Linked DNA regions of Homo sapiens: regions 1, 2 and 4 are each linked to region 3. Evidence: promoter capture Hi-C in human tissues and cell types (Jung and others, 2019). All regions are on one chromosome and are shown on one strand. Each heading gives the region's core, a stretch centred on a gene start or on the middle of the fragment in contact. The rest is flanking DNA. Distances are from core to core; before and after follow the strand shown.

The links. Contacts are between HindIII fragments. The study calls those that stand out against the background at their distance.
Region 1: a fragment that was not itself captured here is called in contact with the fragment with the promoter of FBXW10 in region 3 in 3 of the 25 tissues and cell types used here (lymphoblastoid cells, mesenchymal stem cells and mesendoderm cells).
Region 2: a fragment that was not itself captured here is called in contact with the fragment with the promoter of FBXW10 in region 3 in 5 of the 25 tissues and cell types used here (adrenal gland, dorsolateral prefrontal cortex, lymphoblastoid cells and 2 more).
Region 4: a fragment that was not itself captured here is called in contact with the fragment with the promoter of FBXW10 in region 3 in 2 of the 25 tissues and cell types used here (dorsolateral prefrontal cortex and mesenchymal stem cells).

Annotation. Positions count from the first base shown.
Region 1 is chr17:18,925,061-18,927,800 of GRCh38, forward strand. All of the region lies in intron 10 of PRPSAP2 (phosphoribosyl pyrophosphate synthetase associated protein 2), which reads left to right. Among named protein-coding and RNA genes, the nearest start is that of SLC5A10, 26 kb to the right of the region's middle. The HindIII fragment of the contact is 7,921 bases long and covers 1-2,740 here.
Region 2 is chr17:18,942,522-18,945,221 of GRCh38, forward strand. It overlaps LOC124904114 (small nucleolar RNA MBII-202), which reads left to right and starts at 1,478; the gene lies at 1,478-1,552. The HindIII fragment of the contact is 4,914 bases long and covers 1-2,700 here.
Region 3 is chr17:18,742,696-18,745,743 of GRCh38, forward strand. It overlaps FBXW10 (F-box and WD repeat domain containing 10), which reads left to right and starts at 1,359. Exons shown (of 14, transcript NM_001267585.2): 1 at 1,359-2,054. The coding sequence starts at 1,550. The HindIII fragment of the contact is 4,270 bases long and covers 1-2,874 here.
Region 4 is chr17:18,898,792-18,901,670 of GRCh38, forward strand. All of the region lies in intron 8 of PRPSAP2 (phosphoribosyl pyrophosphate synthetase associated protein 2), which reads left to right. Among named protein-coding and RNA genes, the nearest start is that of PRPSAP2, 42 kb to the left of the region's middle. RefSeq lists an enhancer at 1,892-1,941. The HindIII fragment of the contact is 5,398 bases long and covers 1-2,879 here.

The DNA.
Region 1 (2,740 bases), core at 157-2,656, 180 kb after region 3:
AGTGAGCCAAGATTGTGCCACTGCACTCTAGCCTGGGCGAAAGAGTGAGATTCCATCTCAAAAGAAAAAAAAAAAGTAAACTACAAAGTTGATTATAACTGTTTGAAACATGCATCCTTTCACACATCATAAGACCAGTGCACAAAAAGAGTGCACTTCATGCCTGTATATTTTAAAGAATAGAATGAACACTGGGTACCCGCTAGCTCACTTGAGGCATAGATCATCACCAGGTACCTAGAGGCCTCCTCTGGGCTTACCCTGGTCTCTTTGCCTCAGAGGTTGTCACTGATGTGAAAGCTGCCCATCTTGATCCTGTAGTCAGCCATGAGGGCTTGTGGCCTTAAATGCTGCCTTTTTTTCTTGTCTTTGATGTTTATGTAAATGATGTCTTTGTGTACTTTGGGACTTTCTTGCTCAACACTGTTATTGAAATTTACCTGTGTAGTGGCAGGAAGTTGTACTTCATTCTTTTTCACTGCTATGTGTTGTGTCTTTGGTATAACTGCTACACAACTGATTGAGGCAATGGTACTGCTTTGAACATCCTCGTGCCTATTTTCTGGTGCAAAAGTGTGAGAGTTTCAAGGTGCCTGGGAGTGGGGTTGTTGGGTCTGAAGGTATGCACATTTTTAACTTTACAAGGTGCTGCCAAATTGTTTCCAAAGTGGTCACACCCATTTCCCAAGTTCCATAGTGGGTGCCCCACATTATCCCCAGTGCTTGATAATTTTGTACGCACCCTTTTCAGGTTAGAAAATCTCTCTGGGGCCGGGCACGGTGGCTCACTTCTGTAATCCCAGCACTTTGGGAGGCCGAGACGGGTGTAGGTCAGGAGATCGAGACCATCCTGGCTAACACGGTGAAACCTTGTCTCTACTAAAAATACAAAAAATTAGCCGGGCGTAGTGGTGGGCTCCTGTAGTCCCAGCTACTCGGGAGGCTGAGGCAGGAGATGGCATGAGAGGCGGAGCTTGCAGTGAGCCGAGATCGTGCCACTGCACTCCAGCCCAGGCGACTGAGCAAGACTCTGTCTCAAAAAAAAAATAAGAAAATCTCTCACGTCACCCTCCAGGGTAATAGCTGTCCATTACTTATTCCTTAGTTGGCAAAGTCTATAGTAACAAGGTGCTGTGGATTCAGTAGCACCTTTCCCCCCGTTCTAGTGCCACTGCATTATTTATTTATTTATTTATTTATTTATTTATTTCTATTTTTTTTTTTGAGACAAAGTCTCGCTCTGTCACCCAGGCTGGAGTGCAGTGGCGTGATCTCAGCTCACTGCAACCTCCACCTCCTGGGTTCCAGCAATTCTCCTGCCTCAGCCTCCCAAGTAGCTGGGACTACAGGTGCACGCCACCACGTCCGGCTAATTTTTGTATTTTTTTTGTAGAGACGGGGTTTCACCATATTCACCAGGCTGGTTTCGAACTCCTGACCTCGTGATCTGCCCGCCTTGGCCTCCCAAAGTGCTGGGATTACAGGCGCAAGCCACTGCACCCAGCCGCCAGTGCATTTTTTAAAAAAACGTTTTTATTTTGAAGTAATTATAGATCCACAGGAAGTAGGGGGCAATACACAGGGACATCCTGTGTATTCATTACCCAGCATCCTCCATCTTGCTTAACTATAGTACAATAACACAGACTGAAAATTCTCGGTGCCACAGCCACAGAGGTCCTTCAGACAGCACCAGTTGTGCATGTAGTGAGTGTGAGTGTGTGTGTGTGTGTGTGTGTGTGTTTGTGTTTGTGAATGCAGTCTTACCATGGGTAGCTTTGTGGAACCACCACCACAGTCAGGACACAGAATTGCTCCTTCACTGCAAGGCACCCTCATGCTTCCTTTCATAGCTACACTGACATCCTTCCCACCCAATCTGCAACCCCTTGTGTCTTTGTCCACTTTGTGCTGCTGTAACACCTGAGACTAGGTTGTTTATAAAGAATAGAAGAAATTTATTCTCTAACAGCTCTAGAGGCTGTAAGTCCAAATCATGGCACCAGCATTTGGTCTGGTGAGGGCCTTCTTGCTGTGTCCTCACATGGCATAAGGCAGAAGGACAAAAAGGAATGAACTTTCCTTCAGAAGGCCAGGAAAGAGGTTAACCCACTCCCACAAGCCTTTTTATAGCGACATGAATTCATTCCTGATGGTGGATCCCTCACAACCTAAACACTTTCCCAAAGACCCCACCACCCAACACTGTTGCACTGGGGAATAAGTTTCCAACACATGAATTTTGGAGGGACAAAAACATTCAAGCCACAGCACTGGCAACCACTGATCTGTCCCCTGTCTTTCTAATTATTATTTCAAGAATGTCATATAAATGGAATCTATGGTATATAACCTTTTGAGTTTTGTTTAACCTACCATGATTCCCCTGAGATCCATCCAGGTTGTTTTGTATATTAATATGTTATTCCTTTTTATTGCTGGGCAGTATCCCATGGTATAGAGGTACCAGAGTTTATTTGTTGAAGGACATTTGGATGATTTCCAGGTTGGGGCTATTATACATAAAACTCGCTATGTACATTCATGTATAGGTTTTTGTGTGAACAGAGTTTTAATTTCTCTGGGATAATTGCACTTACAAATGCAGTTGTTGGTTTGCATGGTAGTTGCAGATATACTCTTATAAGAGACTGTCAAACTGTTTTCCAAAGTGGCTGTACCATTTTACTAGTAGGACTTTTAAAGTAGCGTGTGTGTGTGTGTATGTATTTTTTTTGAG
Region 2 (2,700 bases), core at 141-2,640, 200 kb after region 3:
GGTGCTGATGTGGGAGGATGGCTTCAGCTAGGGAGGAAGAGGTTACAGTGAGCCGAGATTGAGCCACTGCACTTCAACCCTGGTGACAGAGTGAGACCCCATCTCAAAAAAAAAAAAAAAAAAATTCTGCTCTGCAAAAGACAGTGTCAAGAGAATGAAAAGACACAGACTGGGAGAAAATAGTTCCCAAAGACATATCTGATAAAGAAGTGTTGTTCAAAATATAGAAAGAACTGGCCACGTGCTGCGGCTCATGCCTGTAATCCCAGCACTTTGGGAGGCCGAGGCAGGCAGATCACGAGGTCAGGAGATCGAGACCATCCTGGCTAACACGGTGAAACCCCATCTCTACTGAAAATATAAAAAATTAGCTGGGCGTGGTGGCAGGCGCCTGTAGTCCCAGCTACTTGGGAGGCTGAGGTAGAAGGATTGCTTGAGCCCAGGAGGTGCAGGTTGCAGTGAGCTGAGATCACATCACTGCACTCCAGCCTGGGCAACAGAGCAGGACCCTGTCAAAAAACCAAAACAACAATAACAAAGCAAAAGAAAAAAAATTAAATAAGAAAACAATTTTAAAATGTGTGAAAGATCTGATCAGACATATCATCGAATAAAATATAAAGATGGCAGATAAGCATGTGAGATGCTCAACATTATATGTCATCATGGAATTGCAAATTCAAACAACAGAGAGACACCACCGCAAGCCCATTAGAGTGGCCAAAATCCAGAACACTGACAACGCCAAATGCTGGGGAGGATGTGGAGCAACAGGAACTCTCATTCATTGCTGGTGGGAATGCAAAATGGTATAGCTACTTTGTTGTTGTTGTTGTTGTTGTTGTTGTTTTGAGACAGAGTCTCACTCTGTAGCCCAGGCTGAAGTGCAGTGGCACGATCTTGCTCATTGCTACCTCTGCCTCCCGGGTCCTGGTTCAAGCAATTCTGCCTCAGCGTCCTGAGTAGCTGGGATTACAGGCATGTGCCACCATGCCCAGCTAATTTTTGTATTTTTAGTAGAGAAGAGGTTTCACCATCTTGGCCAGGCTGGTCTCCAACTCCCGACCTCAGGTGATCCACCTGCCTTGGCCTCCCAAAGTGCTGGGATTACAGGAGTGAGCCACCGCACCGGCCTGTTGTTTTTTGTTTGTTTGTTTGTTTTTTGAGACGGAGTCTTGCTCTGTCGCCCAGGCTGGAATGCAGTGGCGCAATCTCAGCTCACTGCAACCTCCACCTTCTGGATTCAAATGATTCTTGTGCCTCAGTCTCCTGAGTAACTACGACTACAGGCTCGTGCCCCAGGCCCAGCTAATTTTTGTATTTTTAGTAGAGACAGGGTTTCTCCATGTTGATCAGGCCGGTCTTAAACTCCTGACCTCAGGTGATCCTCCCACTTCAGCCTCCCAAAGTGCTGGGATTACAGGCGTGAGCCACCGCGCCTGGCCGGTATAGCTACTTTGGAAGACAGTTTGGAAGTTTCTTACAAATCTAAATGTGCTTTGATGCAAGTATATTTGAATCCCTTTCCATCTGATAACTGAGCAAAATAATAATTTTTTAAAAAGCATAAAAACTAAGCTTACACTTACCATATGATTCAGCAGTTACTCTTGAGTATTTATTCAAAGGAGTTGAAAACTTACGTCCACACAAAAACCTGTGCATGGATGTTTACTCATTATGAATTCAGCTTTATTCATAATTACCAAAACTTTGGTAGATGTCCTTAAGTAGGTGAATGAATAAATAAATCATAGTATCTAGATAATGGAATATTATTCAGTGCTAAAAAGAAATGAGCTACCAAGCCATGAACACATGGAGGAAACAGAAATACAGATGACTAAGTCAAAGAAGCCTTTTGAAAAGGCTACAAAGTGTTTGATTACAGCTATATGACATTTTGGAAAAGGCAAAACCGTGGGAACAGAAAATGATCAGTGGTTGCCAAGGGTTAGGGAGGAGAGAGGGAAGGATAGGGAGAATGCAGGCGACTTTTAGGGCAGTGAAACTACTCTGTATGACATTATAGTGGTGGATGCATGTCAGTATATGTTTATCCAAACACATAGAATACAACACCAAGCGTGAACCCTAATGTAATGTATGTGCTTTGGGAGATGTATCAATGCAGGCTCATCAGTTGTAACAAGCATAACAACTTTTGGTTGGGGATTTTGATAATGGCAGTGGCTATGCATGTGTGGGTCAGGATATTTCTCTACCAAGGAAGGTAGACATACCTTCAACAGCCAACAATTACATGAAAAGATGTTCAACATTACTAGTCCTTAGGGAAATGCAAATCAAAACCACAATGAAATGCTACTTCACGCCTACTAGGACGGCTATCATAATAATGTCAAAATGCAGCCTGGGCAACACAGTGAAACTCCATCTCTACCAGAAATACAAAAATTAGCTGCGTGTGTGACATGCACGTGTGGTCCCAGCTACTTGGTGGGCTGAGGCAAGAGGATCCCTTGAGCCCAGGAGGCAGAAGTTGCAGTGAGTCCAGATCGTGCCACTGCACTCCAGCCTGGGCTGTAAAGTAAAACTCTGACTGAAAAAAAAAATGTAAAAATGGACAATAACAAGTGTTCATGAGAATGTGGAGAAACTGGGGGTCTAGTGCGTTGCTGGTGGGAATGTAAAATGGTGCAGCTCTTCTGGAAGACAGTTTGGCCAATCCTCAAAGTT
Region 3 (3,048 bases), core at 109-2,608:
CTCTACTAAAAATATAAAACTCAGCTGGGCATGGTGGCCCATGCCTGTAATCCCAGCTACTCGGGAGGCTGAGGCAGGAGAATCACTTTAACCCGGGAAGCAGAGGTTGCAGTGAGCCGAGATGCCACCACTGCCCTCCAGCCTGGGGGATAGAGCGAGACTCTGCCTCCAAAAAAAAAAAATGCTTCCTTGAAGAATGTCAGCCTCATAGATTAAAATCCTAATTTATTTAAATCTTTAAAAACAAGCTATTTATAATCTGTCAATTATAAATAAACAAGTTAATTACGAAAAAAAAAAAAGAGCTACTTTTAGCTTGCAGCACTTCTTAGGGTAACGTGCTCGCCTTACAGATCCAAAGAGTCTGCTTCGGGCCTCCCTTCTCTTTGCCACCCTCCTTTGTCTGGCCTTCCCGATTAATTAAATATTAATCTACTCATGCCTTTTCTCCAGATTCCTCTTCAGACAGAAGAGGTTGAGCTGTGAGAACTGATCTCATTCTTAACCTGATTCTTATTCCCCATTCTGACCCTAGTATGTGACTGCCATTGCCAACAAAACCCCAGCGATGGACTCCATTACCTTTCTCTGGTTGTGCCTGGTCTTTCAACATGGGCATTAGAAAGGCACACAATATTGCAAACCTTTTGATTTTATCTAGGGTAATAATACTTAGTAACAGTAACAATAGCAGCAACAACTGATCTCATATATTTAATGCAATCCTAGAAGGTAGTTATCATTTTTATTACCCACCTTTATCTTCTCCATCCTCATAACTAGGATGGAGACACTGAGGCTCAGAGAGGACAGGTTGCCTGCTCGAGACCATATAGCTCCTAAGTACCAGAGTCAATGTTTGAACCGAGTCTTACCTGCAGTAGGAGAATTATCTCAGCATGACTTTGAAACTCTTTCTGTGAGCTGCCCAATATGTTTTGCCTGGGCCCTTTGACTACAGTGAGATTTCTGGTTAGTATTGTGAAGCAGTTAAATAACTTAAATTTACATTAAACATTTCTGGTTTTACTTTGATGATGACTTAAGAAAATGAATATAAACATATTTAGCATCATTGGGATAGCCAGTTTGTAACTGAACAGATATAAACATAAGAAGTTTGCATCTTATTTTATATTCATGAATATTCAGAAGCCATATATAACAACAATAATTAAAGTGCAATACCAGTAATAGTCCACATATTACTTAAATTTGACTAACAGTATTCTTGTTGTTCTAGAAATGAGATGACCAGCTCTTTCAGAATATACAGCAACTGCCTCCACATAAAGCAGTGCCAGGTTTAGGAGATTTACGGTAAAGCCATGTTTCCAAGGAGGTCTGTACAAAAAGCCAGACTTCTGCTGGCAGTTACTGAGAGAGATAGGCTTTCCATCCATGGCAGCCATTTACTTTTGCTCTGGGAGACGTTTGTAATAGAAAAGGCACAACTGGGGTATTTATTCATTCCCCCCGTTCCTCTAGTGTTTGGTGGCGTTGCCGTTGCAAGTGCGCAGGGCTAAAATGGACTGGTTATCTTAGGATCATGGAAAACCTGGAATCAAGGCTCAAGAATGCCCCCTATTTTCGTTGTGAGAAGGGAACCGATTCCATCCCTCTATGCCGGAAGTGTGAGACGTGTGTCTTAGCCTGGAAGATCTTCTCTACCAAAGAGTGGTTCTGCAGGATCAATGACATATCACAGAGGAGGTTTCTAGTTGGCATTCTGAAGCAGTTAAATAGCTTATATTTGTTACACTATTTCCAAAATATCCTTCAGACCACACAGGGAAAGGATTTCATCTATAACAGGTCCCGGATCAACCTCAGCAAGAAAGAGGGGAAAGTTGTGAAGTCCTCCTTGAACCAAATGTTGGATAAAACAGTAGAACAGAAGATGAAAGAGATCTTGTACTGGTTTGCGAACAGCACCCAGTGGACCAAGGCGAATTATACTCTCTTACTGCTGCAGATGTGCAACCCCAAATTACTGCTCACTGCTGCCAATGTGATCAGAGTCCTGTTTCTGAGAGAGGAGAACAATATCTCAGGTAAACAAGGCCACAGGCAGAGACTAGAGGGCCCCCGAAGACCAGAAGGCAAGGCTTCAGAAATCTGTAAGGAACTGCAGTTGTAGACAACATAGGTAGACAGAGATTGCACAGAACTCAGCATAGGTTTTTTGAACTGACACCTTGTCCTGACACCCGATCCTGTTTACCAAAGGAGAAATGACTGAGTGTAACTTCCTTCTTGAAAATGATCAATGCAGGAGGAAGTACACAACTTTTAACTCACAAGCATTTATCATGGATTTCTGCATCTCATAGGCCCAGAAATGGCTGGTCCCTGCCCCTGACCCCTTAATGCTGGTGTCGTTCCTGCTTTAGGGATTGGACTGAGCTCGAGAGGGTTGTAAAGGGGAAGCTTTTGTTTTTCTCTTCAGCTGCCCTGCACAGAAACCAGACCAAGAAGTCAAAACTTAGGGCTTTTTTTTTTTTTTTCATTCACTCTACCATGCTCCTTGCTTATCCATGAAATGAAACCTTAAAGTAGAGTTTCTCCAAGGCTGGAGATAGCTTAAGGGCCAAATAAGTCTAGGGTGGTAGTTCTCCAGCTGTGGCTTGTATCAGGATCTCCAGCAGGACCTGTTAAAACAAGCTCCTCCCCCAGAACTTCGGACTCAGCAGGTCTGAGGTGGGCCCAGGATTCTGTATGTCTTTTCTTTTTTTTTTGAGATGGAGTCTCGCTCTGTCACCCAGGCTGGAGTGCAGTGGTGCGATCTTGGCTCACTGAAACCTCCACCTGCTGGGTTCAAGCAATTCTCCTGCCTCAGCCTCCCAAGTAGCTGGGACTACAGGTGCGTGCCACCATGTCCTAATTTTTTTGTATTTTTTAGTAGAGATGGGGTTTCACCATGCTGGCCAGGCTGGTCTCGGACTCCTGACCTCGTGATCCGCCTGCCTCGGCCTCCCAAAGTGCTGGGATTACAGGCGTGAGCCACTGCACTCGACCAGGGATTCTGTATTTCTAACAAGTTTCCAG
Region 4 (2,879 bases), core at 104-2,603, 160 kb after region 3:
TTGGGAAGCTTTCAGCCATTGTCTTTTTGAGTACTTTTTTAGTCCTACCGTCTTTCTCCTCTTTTTCTGGGACTCTTATGACATAAATGTCAGGTGTTTGTTTGTTTGTTTGTTTGTTTGTTTGTTTGAGATGGAGTTTCATTCTTGTTGCCCAGGCTGGAGTGCAATGGCGTGATCTTGGCTCACCGTTGCAACCTCTGCCTCTTGGGTTCAAGCGATTCTCCTGCCTCAGCCTCCCAAGTAGCTGGGATTACAGGCATGCACCACCACGCCCAGCTACTTTTGTATATTTAGTAGAGACGGGGTTTCTCCATGTTGGTCAGGCTGGTCTTGAACTTCCGACCTCAGGTGATCCACCCACCTTGGCCTCCCAAAGTGCTGGGATTACAGGTGTGAGCCACCGTGCCCAGCTGATCTTTTGTTACAGGTCCATGGGATTCTGTTTATTTTTATTTTCTAGTCTTTTATATTTTTATTTTTTAGTGGGTCTCACTATGTTACTCAGGCTGGTCTTGAACCCCTGGGCTCAAGTGATTCTCCCATCTTAGCCTCCAGAGTAGCTGAAACTACAAGCACATGCCACCATGCCCTGCCACAGCCATTGTTCTCTCTGTTGTCCAAATTGGCTAATTTCTGTTGTCTGTCTTCCAGTTCACTGATTCTTTCCTTGACCTCCATTATTATTTTCACTGTAACTTCCATTCTGCTGTTGAGTATATCCAACTGAGTTTTTTTTTTTTTTTTTTTTTTTTTTGAGACAGGGTCTCACCTCTGTTGCCCAGGCTGGAGTGTAGTGGTATGATCACAGCTCACTGCAACCTCTGCCTCCTAGGCTCAAGCAATCCTCCCACATCCGCCTCCCAAGAAGCTGGGACTACAGGTGCATGCCACCGTGTCTTGCGAATTTATTTTTGGTATTTTTGGTAGAGACGGGGATTTTACCATATTGCCCAGGCTGGTCTTGAACTCCTGAGCTCAAGTGATCTGCCCACCTCAGCTTCTCTAAAGTGCTGGGATTACAGGTGTGAGCCACCACCCCCAGCCCAACTGAGCTTTTTAATTTGGTTATTGTATTTTTTAAGTTCTAAAATAAGTTTTTGGTTCTCTTTTTTTGAGACTGAGTCTCGCTCTGTTGCCCAGGCTGGAGTACAGTGGTGTTATCACAGCTCACTGCAACCTCCGCTCCCTGGGTTCAAGTGATCCTTATGCCTCAGCCTCCTGAGGAGCTGGGATTACAGGCATCTGCCACCACGCCCGGCTAATTTTTGTATTTTTAGTAGAGATGGGGTTTCACCATGTTGGTCAGGCTGGTCTTGAACTTCTGACCTCGTGATCTGCCCGCCTCAGCCTCCCAGACTGCTGGGATTACAGGCGTGAGCCACCGTGCCTGGCTGCTAATTTTGTATTTTTAGTAGAGACGGGGTTTTGCCATGTTGGCCAGGCTGGTTTCAAACTCCTGGCCTCAAGTGATCTGCCTGCCTCGGCCTCCCAAAGTACTGGAATTACAGTCATGAGACACTACGCCTGGCCTTGGGTCTTTTTTTATACCTTCTATTTTTTTGTCAATACTTTCTTTGTTTAGACTTCTTGTTTTTTATTTCACACATGCTCATAATTGCTGCTTGTAGCACTTTTCTGATGGCTGCTCTAAAATCTTTGTTATACAGTTTCAGCATGTCTGTCATCTTGGTGTTGGCATCTGTTAATTGTCTTTTTTCATTCATATTGAGATTTCACTGGCCTTTAGTGTGGCGAGTGGCTTCTGATTGGAATCTGGACTTTTAGATATTGTGTGTGAGACTCTGGGTCTCATTTAGGCCTTCTGATTTTGCTGGCTTCTCAGGACTCTGGCAGGGAAAGTGGTGGTGTTGGGGCTCGTTTCTGCTAGGTAAGGGTAGAAGTCGAGATTCACCACCAGGCCTTGTGTGGACCACCTAAGGTGGTCCTTGTTACTCATGGGTGGAAATGCTCCCTCCATGTCCTCCGCTGACGCCAAGGAAAAGTAGCATCATTCTCATTGGGTGGTGGTGGAATTCCTGACTCCACCAGGCTGCCTCTGATACCACTGCAATGGAGAGGGGAGGGGCACCTCTTTACTGCTGAGTTGGGGGTAGAAGTCCAGATTTCACTCTCCACTGACTCTGGCAGTTGCTCCTTACTGCTGAGTGAGGGTGAAAGTCCCAGCTCCCTGTTTGGCCTTCTGTGAAACCACCCCATTGGGTTTGGGGTGCCTCATTATAGCCTGACAAGCCAGGAAGTACAGGCTCACCCCTCAACCTTTACTCATGCGGCGGAAATGTGGCGGAAACGTGGGCTGTGGCTTTCCTGCCTGTGTGGCTAGAGTAAGGCAGTTATTGTCTAAATATTTTCTCACTCACTAGGTTGCCCTTTTCTTAGTCCTTTGACTAGGGAGAGCCGACCTTTGTTGGAGCTTTTCTTGTCTTTGCCCACTGGCATTTTTGGGTCGCTTCTTCTCCAGCTACAAATCTGGGATAATAAGGCAAAAGGAATGCCCAAGGAAGCCACCACCGTGACGTTGCTCAGGTCCTGAGGTCCCTTGCTAGTCTGCCTTCTCTCTACCTTTTAGTGTCTTCTCATTTTTTTTTGAGACGGAATCTCGCTCTGTCACCCAGGCTGGAGTGCAGTGGCACGATCTTGGCTCACTGCAAACTCCGCCTCCCGGGTTCATGCCATTCTCCTGCCTCAGCCTCCCGAGTAGCTGGGACTACAGGCGTCTGCCACTATGCCTGGCTAATTTTTGTATTTTTAGTGGAGACAGTTTCACCATGTTAGCAAGGATGGTCTCTATCTCCTGACCTCGTGATCTGCCTGCCTCAGCCTCCCAGAGTGCTAGGATTACAGGCATGAGCCACTGCGCC